Linked DNA regions of Homo sapiens: regions 1, 2 and 4 are each linked to region 3. Evidence: promoter capture Hi-C in 16 types of primary human blood cells and fetal thymus (Javierre and others, 2016). All regions are on one chromosome and are shown on one strand. The core of a region is centred on a gene start or on the middle of the fragment in contact, and the rest is flanking DNA. Distances in the headings are between cores, read along the strand shown. Region 1 overlaps GNA14 (G protein subunit alpha 14). Region 2 overlaps GNA14 (G protein subunit alpha 14). Region 3 holds the start of GNAQ (G protein subunit alpha q). Region 4 overlaps VPS13A (vacuolar protein sorting 13 homolog A).

What was found. The method cuts DNA at HindIII sites, captures the fragments that hold promoters and counts their contacts. A CHiCAGO score of 5 or more calls a contact.
Region 1: a fragment that was not itself captured here is called in contact with the fragment with the promoter of GNAQ in region 3 in 10 of 17 cell types (naive CD4 T cells, total CD4 T cells, fetal thymus and 7 more); the score reaches 10.1 in naive CD4 T cells.
Region 2: a fragment that was not itself captured here is called in contact with the fragment with the promoter of GNAQ in region 3 in 3 of 17 cell types (total CD4 T cells, fetal thymus and naive CD8 T cells); the score reaches 7.9 in total CD4 T cells.
Region 4: a fragment that was not itself captured here is called in contact with the fragment with the promoter of GNAQ in region 3 in 2 of 17 cell types (total CD4 T cells and erythroblasts); the score reaches 7.2 in total CD4 T cells.

What each region holds. Positions count from the first base shown.
Region 1 is chr9:77,433,385-77,436,443 of GRCh38, forward strand. It overlaps GNA14 (G protein subunit alpha 14), which reads right to left. Exons shown (of 7, transcript NM_004297.4): 3 at 984-1,138. Among named protein-coding and RNA genes, the nearest start is that of GNA14-AS1, 13 kb to the right of the region's middle. The HindIII fragment of the contact is 6,132 bases long and covers 1-3,059 here.
Region 2 is chr9:77,486,226-77,488,938 of GRCh38, forward strand. The region is part of intron 2 of GNA14 (G protein subunit alpha 14); the gene reads right to left. The region is part of intron 2 of GNA14-AS1 (GNA14 antisense RNA 1); the gene reads left to right. Among named protein-coding and RNA genes, the nearest start is that of GNA14-AS1, 40 kb to the left of the region's middle. The HindIII fragment of the contact is 2,092 bases long and covers 357-2,448 here.
Region 3 is chr9:78,030,330-78,033,325 of GRCh38, forward strand. It overlaps GNAQ (G protein subunit alpha q), which reads right to left and starts at 1,482. Exons shown (of 7, transcript NM_002072.5): 1 at 771-1,482. The coding sequence starts at 906. RefSeq lists an enhancer at 671-1,565. The HindIII fragment of the contact is 11,535 bases long and covers 1-2,996 here.
Region 4 is chr9:77,417,535-77,420,602 of GRCh38, forward strand. It overlaps VPS13A (vacuolar protein sorting 13 homolog A), which reads left to right. Exons shown (of 72, transcript NM_033305.3): 72 at 1-3,068. Among named protein-coding and RNA genes, the nearest start is that of GNA14-AS1, 29 kb to the right of the region's middle. The HindIII fragment of the contact is 1,204 bases long and covers 687-1,890 here.

The DNA of each region.
Region 1 (3,059 bases), core at 312-2,811, 600 kb before region 3:
TTTACATTTTCTTTTTTTTTGAGACAGAGTCTCACTCTGTCACTCAGGCTGTACTGCAGGAGTGTAATCATGGCTCATTGCAACCTCAACCTCCTAGGCTCAAGACATCCTCCCGCCTCAGCCTCCCGAGCAGCTGCCCAGCTAATTTTTGTAATTTTTGCAGAGACGAGGTCTTGCTCTGCTGCCCAGGCTAGTCTCGAATTCCTGGTTTCAAGCGATCCTCCCACCTCTGCCTCCCAAGTCCCTGGGATTACAGATGTGAACAGGAAATGCCCAAGAAAGTGAAAATCTGTCATCTCTATGGGACAGTTTGCATGCTGGGACATCTAAATAGAAATCTTTTTACCTTCAAGGATTAATGAATTAAAAATTGAGCTGTATGGATCCAAAATACAGTGTGTAGGCCTTCGCAGGCAGCCAATAAACAAAGGATTGAGCTTCCTGTGTGTGCTGCGAGCGCAGCCTCCTATCTGTGCCACTAGAGGACAGCACCAGATCAGCAGCTGATGGGTCCACGGCCCCGCTGCTCTAAACTTGACTTTAGATTTTAGCGCAATTGGACCTGCTGTCTTCTGATGGGGAAACCAGAAAGGCAGAGGGATATAGAGAGGAGGAAAGTAGAAGCCAAAAGCAAGGGTATTTCTTGTTTAAATCAGATAATTTCAGCACTCCTAAGGAGATCAGTCCCACTTAAGGGACCTCAGATTTGATTTGAGTCTCTCATTGAAAACGACAGGCTTAGAACACAGCAAGAGCAGGCGGGTGTCGGCAGGAAGAGAGGTCTGCGATCCACAGAGTGACCGAGGGCTTTAGGAGGTGGTGAGAGATGGCACTAAGAGGTCAGGAGGGATATGGGAAAGCAAAGGCAAGTAGCGCTGCCACTGTGCACCGCATTTCAGCAGCGTTCAGCGAGAAACTTCTTTGAAGTGTGGCCGAGCTTGCCTGAAAGCACCGCGGGCGGCCAGGGTGGGCTCTGTACTCACTATTTGGCAGAGTCCGACAGCTGGTACTCCCTCCTCCTGTCGTAACACTCCTGGATGCCTGGATCTTGCCAGAGCTGCTTGATGGCCTCCACCTGCTCCCTGGAGAGCATGGAGACCTTGTCCACTTCCACTTCTCTGATTATCTGGGCATTTTCCTACTCAAAGGAAAGAGAACCTTGCATCAGGCAAAGGAAAGGAAGCCAACCCATTGGCAATGTCGGTACAAGTCTTGCCCTGGTCTGTGGATTTGGAGAGCTCTCACTAGGCATGGGGCGTGGTGGGCACCCTCCCAGGGGCCGCTCACAGCCAAGACACCCACTGCAGCCATGCTGAGTGGAGATGAGGTGGCTGCTTAGCTCCGTGGAGAGAGCCACCAGCAGCCCAAGACCTGCAGCTTCTGTGCCCAGCCATGTCCTGGGCCAGTTTCGCCAGCATTCAACAACACCCAGTGGTGAATAAAGAGTCACTGGAGCTTTCATCCTACCAGCAAACTTTACTTCTTCATTAACATATGACTCATTTGAGTATCTGCATAGCCAATGAGGCCATTTAAAAATGGCACACCAAGGTTTGGGTGGTAGAAACTGGTCCACCTGGTACAGGCAATAAGGAGGCGCCTTGTCTTTAGAGAAGTGAAACACAATAACAACTTATCATCAGTCTGGGATTTTGTTCTTTCATTTAAAAAAAAAAAAAAAAAAAAAACACTGGCCAGCTGCGGTGGTTCATGCCTGTAATCCCAGCACTTTGGGAGGCCGAGGCGGGCCGATCACAAGGTCAAAAGTTCAAGACCAGCCTGGCCAACATGGTGAAACCCCATCTCTACTAAAAACACAAAAATTAGCTGGGCATGGCGGCGCGTGCCTGTAATCCCAGCTACTCAGGAGGCTGAGGCAGGAGAATCGCTTGAACCCAGAAGGTGGAGGTTGCAGTGAGCCGAGATGGTGCCAAGGCACTCCAGCCTGGGTGACAGAGCGAGACTCTGTCTCCAAAAAAAAAAATATATTAATAATAATTGACTTTACTTTTTAGAGCAGTTTTAGCTTGCCAGCAAAATTGTAGGGCAAGTACAGCGCATTCTCACACAGTCTGCTTTTCATTTTCTTGCATCACTGATACAACTCTTTCCCACTGGGAGCCTCCCTCCCAATGCACTACTCTCCCCACACCACTGATTATTATATTACCATATTTATTATTACTATGATTATTAAATAATTATTGCTCTATTACTACAGTAATTAAGGCCATTATTACTGTAATTATTACTATTACAGCGGTTACCATTTATTGGCTATGTACTATGTGCCAAGGCCTCTACATACATTATCTCATTTAATCAATGGGAGGCTAGCATGAGCCAGAAATCTTTCCAAACCTCAGAAAATGGAAAAGATAAGGTTGGCCTGCAGCCACAACATTTCCCCGTGTTGGCCCCAGAGACTCAGCATCCTTTCCTTGGCTGCAAGTTGTAGCAGACAAGTGAATCCTGGCAAGAGAAGCAGGACCCCAGGCTCTTATTCCCCCTCCCATATTTCTGCATCCCACAGCAGTTACATCACCAAGCAGGGCTGGCTACAGCAGCAGCTGTGAGTCAGCAAACCATCTGCTTGGTAGCTGGGATCTCAAGTGTAGACGGTACCTCCTGAAAAGTCACTTTTATTGTGCGTTGTTCATCCTTATAATTATCCAACAGCAAGCCAGAGAAAAGGAGGATCTTACACATCCACCTGGCTCATCCTAACCAAGGACTGTGAATGAATCGATGTGACTTTTCCCCACACCTGTCAGGAAAGTGAATGTAAACTCTTCCTGGAGACTGTAGGACCTTCAGGCAGGTAGGATCTCAAACAAGGTCCAGGCAGGATGGATTACTGGAAAGTGCGCTGGCCTGGGAATCAGGACCCTGAGTTCTAAACAGTGTAGTTGGGACTTTTAAGGACCCCAACAAGTTACCTGCCTCAGTGTCCTCATTTGTAAAACGAGCCATGATTTCCAGGGGTACCTGAATTATAAAGTGTTACTTATATGTAAGTAGAATTAGCCTTTACTATTGTAGCAGATGTCTAATAAGTA
Region 2 (2,713 bases), core at 153-2,652, 540 kb before region 3:
TGTTACAGAGATGGCTTCTTTCCATAATCCTCATGAACCAACCTCTTCTCACTTCCAGCTTTTATTGTGCAGCTTCCTTACCTCTCAGCTTTCATAGAATCGAAGAGAGTTAGGGCCTGGCTCTGGATTCAATTTTGGCCAAGGCAATGTTACAGCTGTTTGATCTTCTATCCAGACCACTAAAACTTTCTCCATATCAGCAATAAGTCTATTTCACTTTCTTATCATTTGTGTATTCACTAGAGTAGCACTTCCAATTTCTTTGAAGAACTTTTCTTTTGCATTTACAACTTGGCTATTTGGTGCAAGAGGCCTAGCTTTTGGCTGTCTCAGCTTTTTACATGCCTTCCTCACTAAGCTTAATCATTTCTAGCTTTTGATTTAAAGTGAGAGATGTGTGACTCCTCTTTTCACTTGAACATTTTGAGACCATTGTAGGATTATTAATTGGCCTAATTTCAATACTACTGTGTTTCAGGTAATAGGGAGGCTTTAAGGAGAGGGAGATAGATGAGGATTGGCCAGTGGATGGAGCAGTCAGAACATATATACACAATGTTTATTGACTGTCTTCTTACATGGGCATGTTTGTGGTGCCCCCAAATAATTACATTAGGAAGATAATAGATCTCTGACCACAGATCATCATAATGGATATAATAATAGTGAAAAGGTTTGAAATATTGGGAGAATTATCAAAACTTTCCAGAGACATGAAGTGAGCATATGCTGTTGGAAAAATGAACCCAATAGACTTGCTCAATGTAGTGTTACCACAAACCTTCAATTTGTTAAAAAAAAAAAAAAGGCAATATATATAAATTGCAATAAAGTGAAGCAGCATAGAATGAGGTATGCTTGTATTATGTTTTTTCATCTGATGACTGAAACAGCTACTAAGTGACTAGTAGGCAGAGAGCATATACAGCATGAATACACTGGATGAAGGGATGATTCATGGCCCAGGTAGGATGGAGCTGGACAGTATGAGATTACATCATGCTACTCAGAATGGTGTGCAATTTAAAGTCGTTTCTTTCTGGAATTTTCCATTATTTTTGGACTGCAGTTGACTATGGGTAACTGAAACCAAGAAAGTGAGACCATGGAGAAGGGGAATTGCTGTACAGAATTTTTAAAAATATTATGTACCAGTGTTACTTTGATTAAAAATAAAAAAGTAAGCAGTTGAGGGAGCTTTAACTAGTCAATTGACATTTTGCCATCTCCTCTTCCTTATCTATAAAATAGGAATGCTATCTTATGGTATTTTTGTAATTGCCAAATAAGCCAGTATGTAAAAGCACTTTATAAATGATAAAGCTAAATCCAAGAGACATAAAAATGTAAACAGGAGAACCATGTTGCTGTTTTAGTTATACTGAAAACACAGATAGGCACTACTGAGTCCTAACCCAACACAAGTCATATGTAACACACACATACACACACCACATTCACAGCTGAAAACTAGGATGTTTTGGTTCATTAAGAATTGTGGGTAAATAGCAGTAAGAATATTAACCATTTATGAATTACAGATTTTGAAGGAATTAGAAGTACCTACCACTGAAGCCATCCTGAGCATGATCTAGTCTCTTTTTAGAGTTTCAGTAGACACATCCAGGTCTCACCATCTCGCTCAGATCTCACTGTCTCACAGAGTTGTTATTAGGAACAACAATGTGCCAAACATACCACGTTGGGCACTGGAGCCAGTTTATACACAGCTGAAAAACCCAGTTGACATCACATTTGATACCAGGACCATCATCTAAAAAGGTCATTGATAATGTGGAAGATTCAGGGAGAAAAAAAAACACTTAAAGCAATGTACAGGCCAAAATAGCAGTGTAGAAGCAAGCTGCCTTCACTCCACCTGAGAGAACAAAAAATACAAAGCCAGCAATATCTTAGAACTCACATATGAGGAGGATATATTTCCTAGGGGCACAGAGAAATTTAAAAAACTGTGAGGAGGTGGTAAGATAACTGAACTTCCATATCCTTGATTCTGCTGTCTCCAATCTACCCGGCACCAAGTGCATGGAAAATTTCTGCCTGACTCAGGGTTTCTACACTGGAAAGAGTAAAATCAAGGTGGATAACTAGCCTCCCCACCTTCTTGGGTTCCCTGGCAGGAGACCTGTCCTTCCCTCAATCCATGGGAAGCATCATGAGCGCCTGAAAAGATAAATATCACTGAGGACAGCCAGAAACAAAGCAGGGAGGCAAGACTTCCATCCACCACCATGGAAACTCTGCTCTGTAACTCAGCCAAAGCTGATGTTAAATCAGAGTGTTCAGCAGCATCACTCTGTAGGAGGTACATTCCACAGGTCCTCTGGGCACAAACACCTAGTGAGCCTTCCCATACTACTAAGAATCCCATTTGGGACCTCACCCATTCAGATGGGCAGCACTCTGGTTTTTACTAGAATTGAGAAAAGCTTGGGCTCAAGGCACCCTCTAGTGCCAAAAAGGAGGCAGTGTTTTAGTGTGAGGAAAAATAAAATAAATAGTAAGTTACAAAGACTCTTTAAGCAAACACACCTAATTAAAAAAAAAAAAAAAAAAAAAAAAACAGAACAAGCCAGACAGAGAAGACTGGAATTAATAACTAATCCTTCAGTGCAAAGAAACAGACATACATCACATGAAACAACAGCAAACAGGAAACCATGGCCTCCTGAAATTGACAAAGCAAGGAGTC
Region 3 (2,996 bases), core at 232-2,731:
GAAGGAATGGTGCAGACGAGAATAACGCCTGTCACCATCCACTGGCCAACTCTTCTAGGCTCCCTCCTTTCGATGGTCTGGTGGCTAGAGAACAGCACTTGTGTGACACATTTGGGCTTGCCCTCCCGCCTCGCCCCCAGTACACAGACCCTTTCCTTGGAGGGCCAACCACTTGGCTTCCTCACCATGAGTGCTCCGGGAATCCAGCTGCGAGTCTGCCCACCGTTCCCCCATTCCCTCCTGACCCCATAGGGCACTGATAATGGATGCACACCGGCCACTCCACCGCAGGCCATCCCCCAACGTGCCCCGGCTCCGCTCGCCACCCGCTGGGCCACACACACGGCTCCCCACGCCACCACCCCATGGGGTGCCGCGGCCACGACACTGGAAGTTCAACCCCTCTGCCCACCTTTCCACCCCCGCGCCTCTGGTCGGAGTGATCTGCCATTTAGCAGATGCACAGCAGATAAGGTACAGCCCTCAGGGACACGAAAAGGAACAAGCCAAGGCACCGGGCAGGGCAGCCCCGACCCCTGTGCTGCGTGTGTGTGTCGCTGTGTGTGTGTGTGTGTGTGTGTGTGTGTGTGTCTGTGTGTAACGCGCCCGCGCGCCCGCGCGGGTGAAGGCAGTGGCCGGGGGCGCGCCCGGGAGGGTAGGGGCGAACCGCGGGCGCCGGGGGGCGGGGGCGCCGAAGGCAGCTGCCCCGCAGGGCCAAGGATGGTGGGCTGGGGGCGCAGAGGCCCGGCGGGGCCCCGGACGGTACTCACCGAGCAGCAGCAGCTTGAGCTCCCGGCGGGCGTCCCGCTTGTCCCTGCGGAGCTGCCGCTCGATCTCGTCGTTGATCCGCCGGGCTTCCTTGGCCTCCTCGCTCAGGCAGCACGCCATGATGGACTCCAGAGTCATTCTTCCAAAGTGCCTCCGCTGCAGCCCCGCCGGCACCCCCTGCTCACAGCGCGCACACACACCCTCCCGCCCTCGCTCCCCCGAGGCAGCGGTGGCCGCCGAGCCCCCGCCGCCCGGGCGCGCGTCCGGGACGAGCTCCGGGAACCGCCGCGGGGGCGGCGGCCAGGGCCGGGGCCACCAGGTGGGCCGGGGGCGCGGTGGGAGCGGATAGTCTGGGCCGACGGGAGAAGAGAGGCGGGCGCGGGAGGCGGGCGCTGGCTCGGGGGGCGCGTGAGAGAAGGCCGCCGCGCCCGGCCTCGCTCAGACGCCCGCGCCTCCTTCCCCGGGAACAGGCGGCCCGCCTCGCCCCCCGAGCCGCCGCCGCCGCCGCCGCCTGCGAGGCTCCCCTACGCCGTGCGCCTGGCGGCGAGAGCTCATTCACCGGGGTGTCCCCGCAGCGAGCGGCCGCCGACGGCTCCCCGCGCCCGGCGCGCCCGCTCCTCGCCGCCGCCTGACACGGCTCCCGGGCGCCCTCGGCCCTGTCCGCGCCCACCGCCCGGCTCGCGCGCAGACCCGGTTCCCGTCCCGCCCGGCAACCGCGCGCTCCTCCGCCTCCGCCTCCGCCCCCGCCCCCGCCAGACGCCCACCCCCTGCCCCGATTGCCAGGCGCGGAGCGGCTGCTCAGTGCGAGCCCTCCCCCTCGCCACACACACACATTTTCTTCTTTCTCTGAACTGGAGCACAGATCCGGGAGGGAGGAGGCGGCGGCGAAAGGAGGAGGAGGAAGAGGCGGAGGGGATGGGCGCGGGAGGAGGGAGCCGGGAGGCGGTGCCGCCCGGCCCCTCCTGGAAGGCTTTCCTGGGCTCGCGGCCGCCGCGGCGCGCCTCCCAGTGCGGCTCTCGCCTCGCCCGCGCGGCTCCCGGGCTGGGCCGGCCCCCGCGGGCTCTGCGGACGCCTACTGCTCCCGCACCCTCGGCAGAGTCCGCGGGCGCAGCAGTCACGGCCGCCCCCGGCCGAAGTCGGGGCCAGACCCGGCCGCCGACGCGCAGCCCGAGCCGGCGGCCGCCGTTGCGTGCCAGGGCCGCAGCCGACCTGCGGCTGCCGTCCGGCCGGGCGTGGTGAGACAGGAATATGGCGGCCTCTGCCTGCCTCAGCCCACCGGCCCGGGAGCGCGGCCGCGGCCCCTGCTGAAGTCGCGGGAGGCGGCCCCGCGGAGCCCCGCACGCGCTCCCTGCGGCGCCGGCGCTGGCGTCCGCCGCTCCCGGGCTGTGCCTGTCTGCTCCACGGGGTCGCTCCTCAGCCGTTTCTGTGTTTCCCGTTCCTATTTCTAAAACGCCATTCGGTTAGAAACTCTCACGTCACCTCTGACACCGGTGCAGTCTTAGAAAATAAGCTCCTCTATACTGTGTGGGGCTACTGGGGAAGGGAAGGGAAGGAATTGGCACCGGTGCCCAGAGGTGTAGGGGGAGATTCACAGGCGAAGCTGTTCGCAAAGTAACGTGAGATAGAAATCTAAATCCTGAACAGAGAAAGGAAGCTGCCCAAGTTTCCAAGAGCCTCCCGATAGGTTCCAACTTTTCATGCCTTTGTTTTTTTGGTGGTTGTTGGTTGTTTTTGTTTTTTTAAGTTGTTTTTGTTTTTGTTTTACAAGTTCTCTTGTTTCTGAGAAGGCACACGATGTTTAGCCGCCGAGTAATCGAATTTACTCTTCTAGACTGAGATTGAATTATGGATGACTTATGGGAAAATGTAAAATAATGTGGAATAAAAGGAAAGGAAAGAATGAAATAGAAGAGAAACTAAGGAGGCCCCAGCAAAACGGCATTCTAGTTTTTTTGATTTGCAATATGTGATTGAGGCAGTAAACTGTCGTATGCACATTTCATTGTGATCGTCTACTGATAAATAGCACACGAAAATAATCTTGTTTAATCAGGCCCAGGAGATGAAACTCATATTGCTTCCTGCCTTAAAGGAACCTGAGGTCTTCAAAGAAAATTGTCTTTTATGAAGAGAACCGCTTTTTCACGTTTCATGTGTTCTCTGAAGTGTCCCTGGTGCAACCTGCTGATCCAGAGTGTAAGGTACGGTCATGACTCTGCTTTTGCTAC
Region 4 (3,068 bases), core at 39-2,538, 610 kb before region 3:
ACCTTTGTTTAAAAAAAAAAAAAAGTGCTTATTTTCTCTGTCGCTAAGCTCCTCCAGTTTTGCTTTTGTCAGAATTAAACTTAACAGTAGAGGTAGTCAGAAAGCTTGCATCAGACTGTCCTCATCCAAAACGAAATACTTCATTACCCAATGTTATGATTTCACCATTCTCAGAAAAATTACAGTCCCCTGCCTCCCTGGGTGTAGTGTCGTGAAGTAGAAAAGCCTTACATAAATAGTAAACATAGAAATTCTTCTGGTGCCCTCTGGCAGCCAGCAGGAGTGGGTCTTGTGACTAATCCACATGGAAAGGATAGTGCCTGTCTTTCCTGTTCCCTTGCCATAAGAACCGTGAAATCTCTCCTTTCCCTGCCACTCGTTTACTCATCACCTCCTCCCATCACTTCCTTGTCTCTAGACTAGAGGGACCCACAGTTTTAAGAGCTACATCATATCATTTGTTGTTTTAGAAGATTGTCTTCATCTAAACAAAAACACTAAGAAATCAGTAGATCACTAGATAATGAGTCAGTGTTTTTAGCATCACATTTTACAATTTACAGTTTTTGTTTGATTCTGTAGCCCATTTTTCTTGAAGGTTAGAATAAGAATCTTCTTGTATTTGAAAACCATCTGCCCTAAATTACATTTAACTACAAGAAATGGCTCTCTGCTGGAGAAATTTAAGCTTGTCTTAGTTGTTTGGTAGTGGCTATGGAATGAGAGGTGTTGAGTCTTGTGCCCCTTCCATGTATTATTTGCTAACTAACTATATTACTAGGCCCTTAATTCCAGCACAGCATGTCTTCTGGTCTATGATAATTGTGTGAGGACTAAGGCAGAGTGCCTGTTCCCTGCCAACTCTCCACCAGAAAATCATAATCAGAAAGAGTGACTTTGATTTCTGGTACTTGTGATCAAAAGCAGCTTGTGATTTCTTCACATTTGCAAAATACTCTCTGAGCCAAAAGGCACATACAGTTCTCCAGTGTCTTCCCTTTTAGAGTATACATATTTGCTGCTTTTCCTTTAGTGTTCACAAAAATCCCAAGGTCAGTTTAGTGTGGCTGAGTTGTTGTTATCTGGACCCTAAACAATCATTACCACCTGTAGACAGTTCTTACCTACCCCTCTCCTCCACAATCCTAGTCCATTTGGAGGCAACTATCCTGTGGCCTCCAAGTGAATAAATCTTTCTTACACTTACTTACGTGATATTTTCTATCATAATTATCTCTCTCATTTCTTCCAATAGTAATAGCGGTAATATTGTTCCATTGAATATCTATGCACCTAGCTCATCTCTTAGAAACATCCCACATAGTAGCATCGTATTACTCTCTGGTAAAAAGAAAGATTAAATTAAAAGGACTCTACACAGTGCTGAATTTCCTGCACCTAAATTATTCAGTTATCACTTGCCAGTATTAGTTGATCCTTCAGGCTATGCCAAGTGCCCCCTCATGTAGGCCTCTGTATTAAAAAGATTGGGACAAAATACTTGATTAGTTTGCCTGTAGAAGCTCAAAGTGTGTACCAAATACATTGACAGTGGATGCTTTCATGGCTCAGCCAACACAGTTCAGAGGAATCTTTTCGGCTTCCAGGGCATTGCTTGTTACCTTTTGTCAGGATCAACCCAAATCCTCAGGGATGCTGTTTTTCCACACTGTAAGTCCTAACTCATTAGTGGGTCATGAAATCAACTTAACAGCTCAAGACCAGTATATTTTAAACGTGAAATAATAAAAAATAGAGGAACAATAGAGCATATAAAATGGTTAAGTATTGGTTCCTGAAATACTGTTTCAGCTAAATATTCTATTTACTGTGTATACTGGGTCACAATATAAAGTGTTTCCTGTTATGAAATGCAATTTAAAAAAAGAAAGCTTGAAAGACTGCTGCAGGAGGCACCGGCCATCCAGTGATTGTTGGAAGAGTCTGGATTGTGTGGAGCCTGACCTTAGATAAGGAGCAGCAGATCCACAACTCAGGAAGTCTAGAGATGCTTAGCACTTCTTCTTTTGAGTGAGAAGATGGAATCACTCTTGGTTTCTAAAATATTTTTCTTCTCTGCTGTGTATCGGGCAACCTCACATGATTCAGTGGGACCAGAAAAAGCATAGAAAAATTAGATCCACACACAGCACCCAAAAAAGGCCATAGTCTTTTGTTTACCTAGATGTATTTTAACCTCTTTACCACTAAGCATTTTACTATAATAGAACTGGGGACATACATTGTCCTTTTGAGTCCGTTGAATCTGCACCATCTACCTTTTGGCTGATTCACCATACAGGTGGCAAAGGCCTTTAAAAATGGGGAGCTAATACGTAGGGCACATTCTGGTAGGGCCAAAATATTCAGTGTCTGGGGGGTGCTATGCAAATATCAATGACTTTTTACTAAAAACAGTGGATTTCCTCATTTCTTTAAGATCCAAGTAGAAAATGTAAATAACTTACATTCTGTATGCAGGACTCAATACAGACTTAGTCAATCTGATTTTTTTTGGTGCTTTTCAGTATAGCGCAACTCTAAAAGGAAACCCATTCACCCTCCTTAGTCCTTTGAAGTATACTTTTGAAATTATACCTTATTGTTAATGGCAACCTAATCAAGCTAGGATTTGTCGGTTAAAATTTTGATTCTTGTAATCTGTACTGTCAATTTTTGGCCACTCTGGCTGTTACAGCAAACTTTTCTCCCACTGTCATAATTGGTCTAAAGTAGTATTTGTTTCAGGACTATCCAAAAAGCAAGGCCAGCACATTGAGAAGATGCAGAATCCTACTCTATTACAAACCTCACTCATGTTTCTTTTATTGAAACCTTTTTCTACTTTATATTTCCTCTTTTGTAAATTTTTCCATGTCATTTAAAAAATTTTTTACTTTAGAATTACAGATTAGTTCTTTTTTTAAAGCATTATGGCATTTTCAAAAAAAAAATTATTTTGGTTACCCAAAAAGCTATACAAGAAATATAACTTCAATTTTTTAGGTTGATATGGGTATATTTTTAAAGTTTTTATTACTTTATACAAATACAAATTAATTTATATT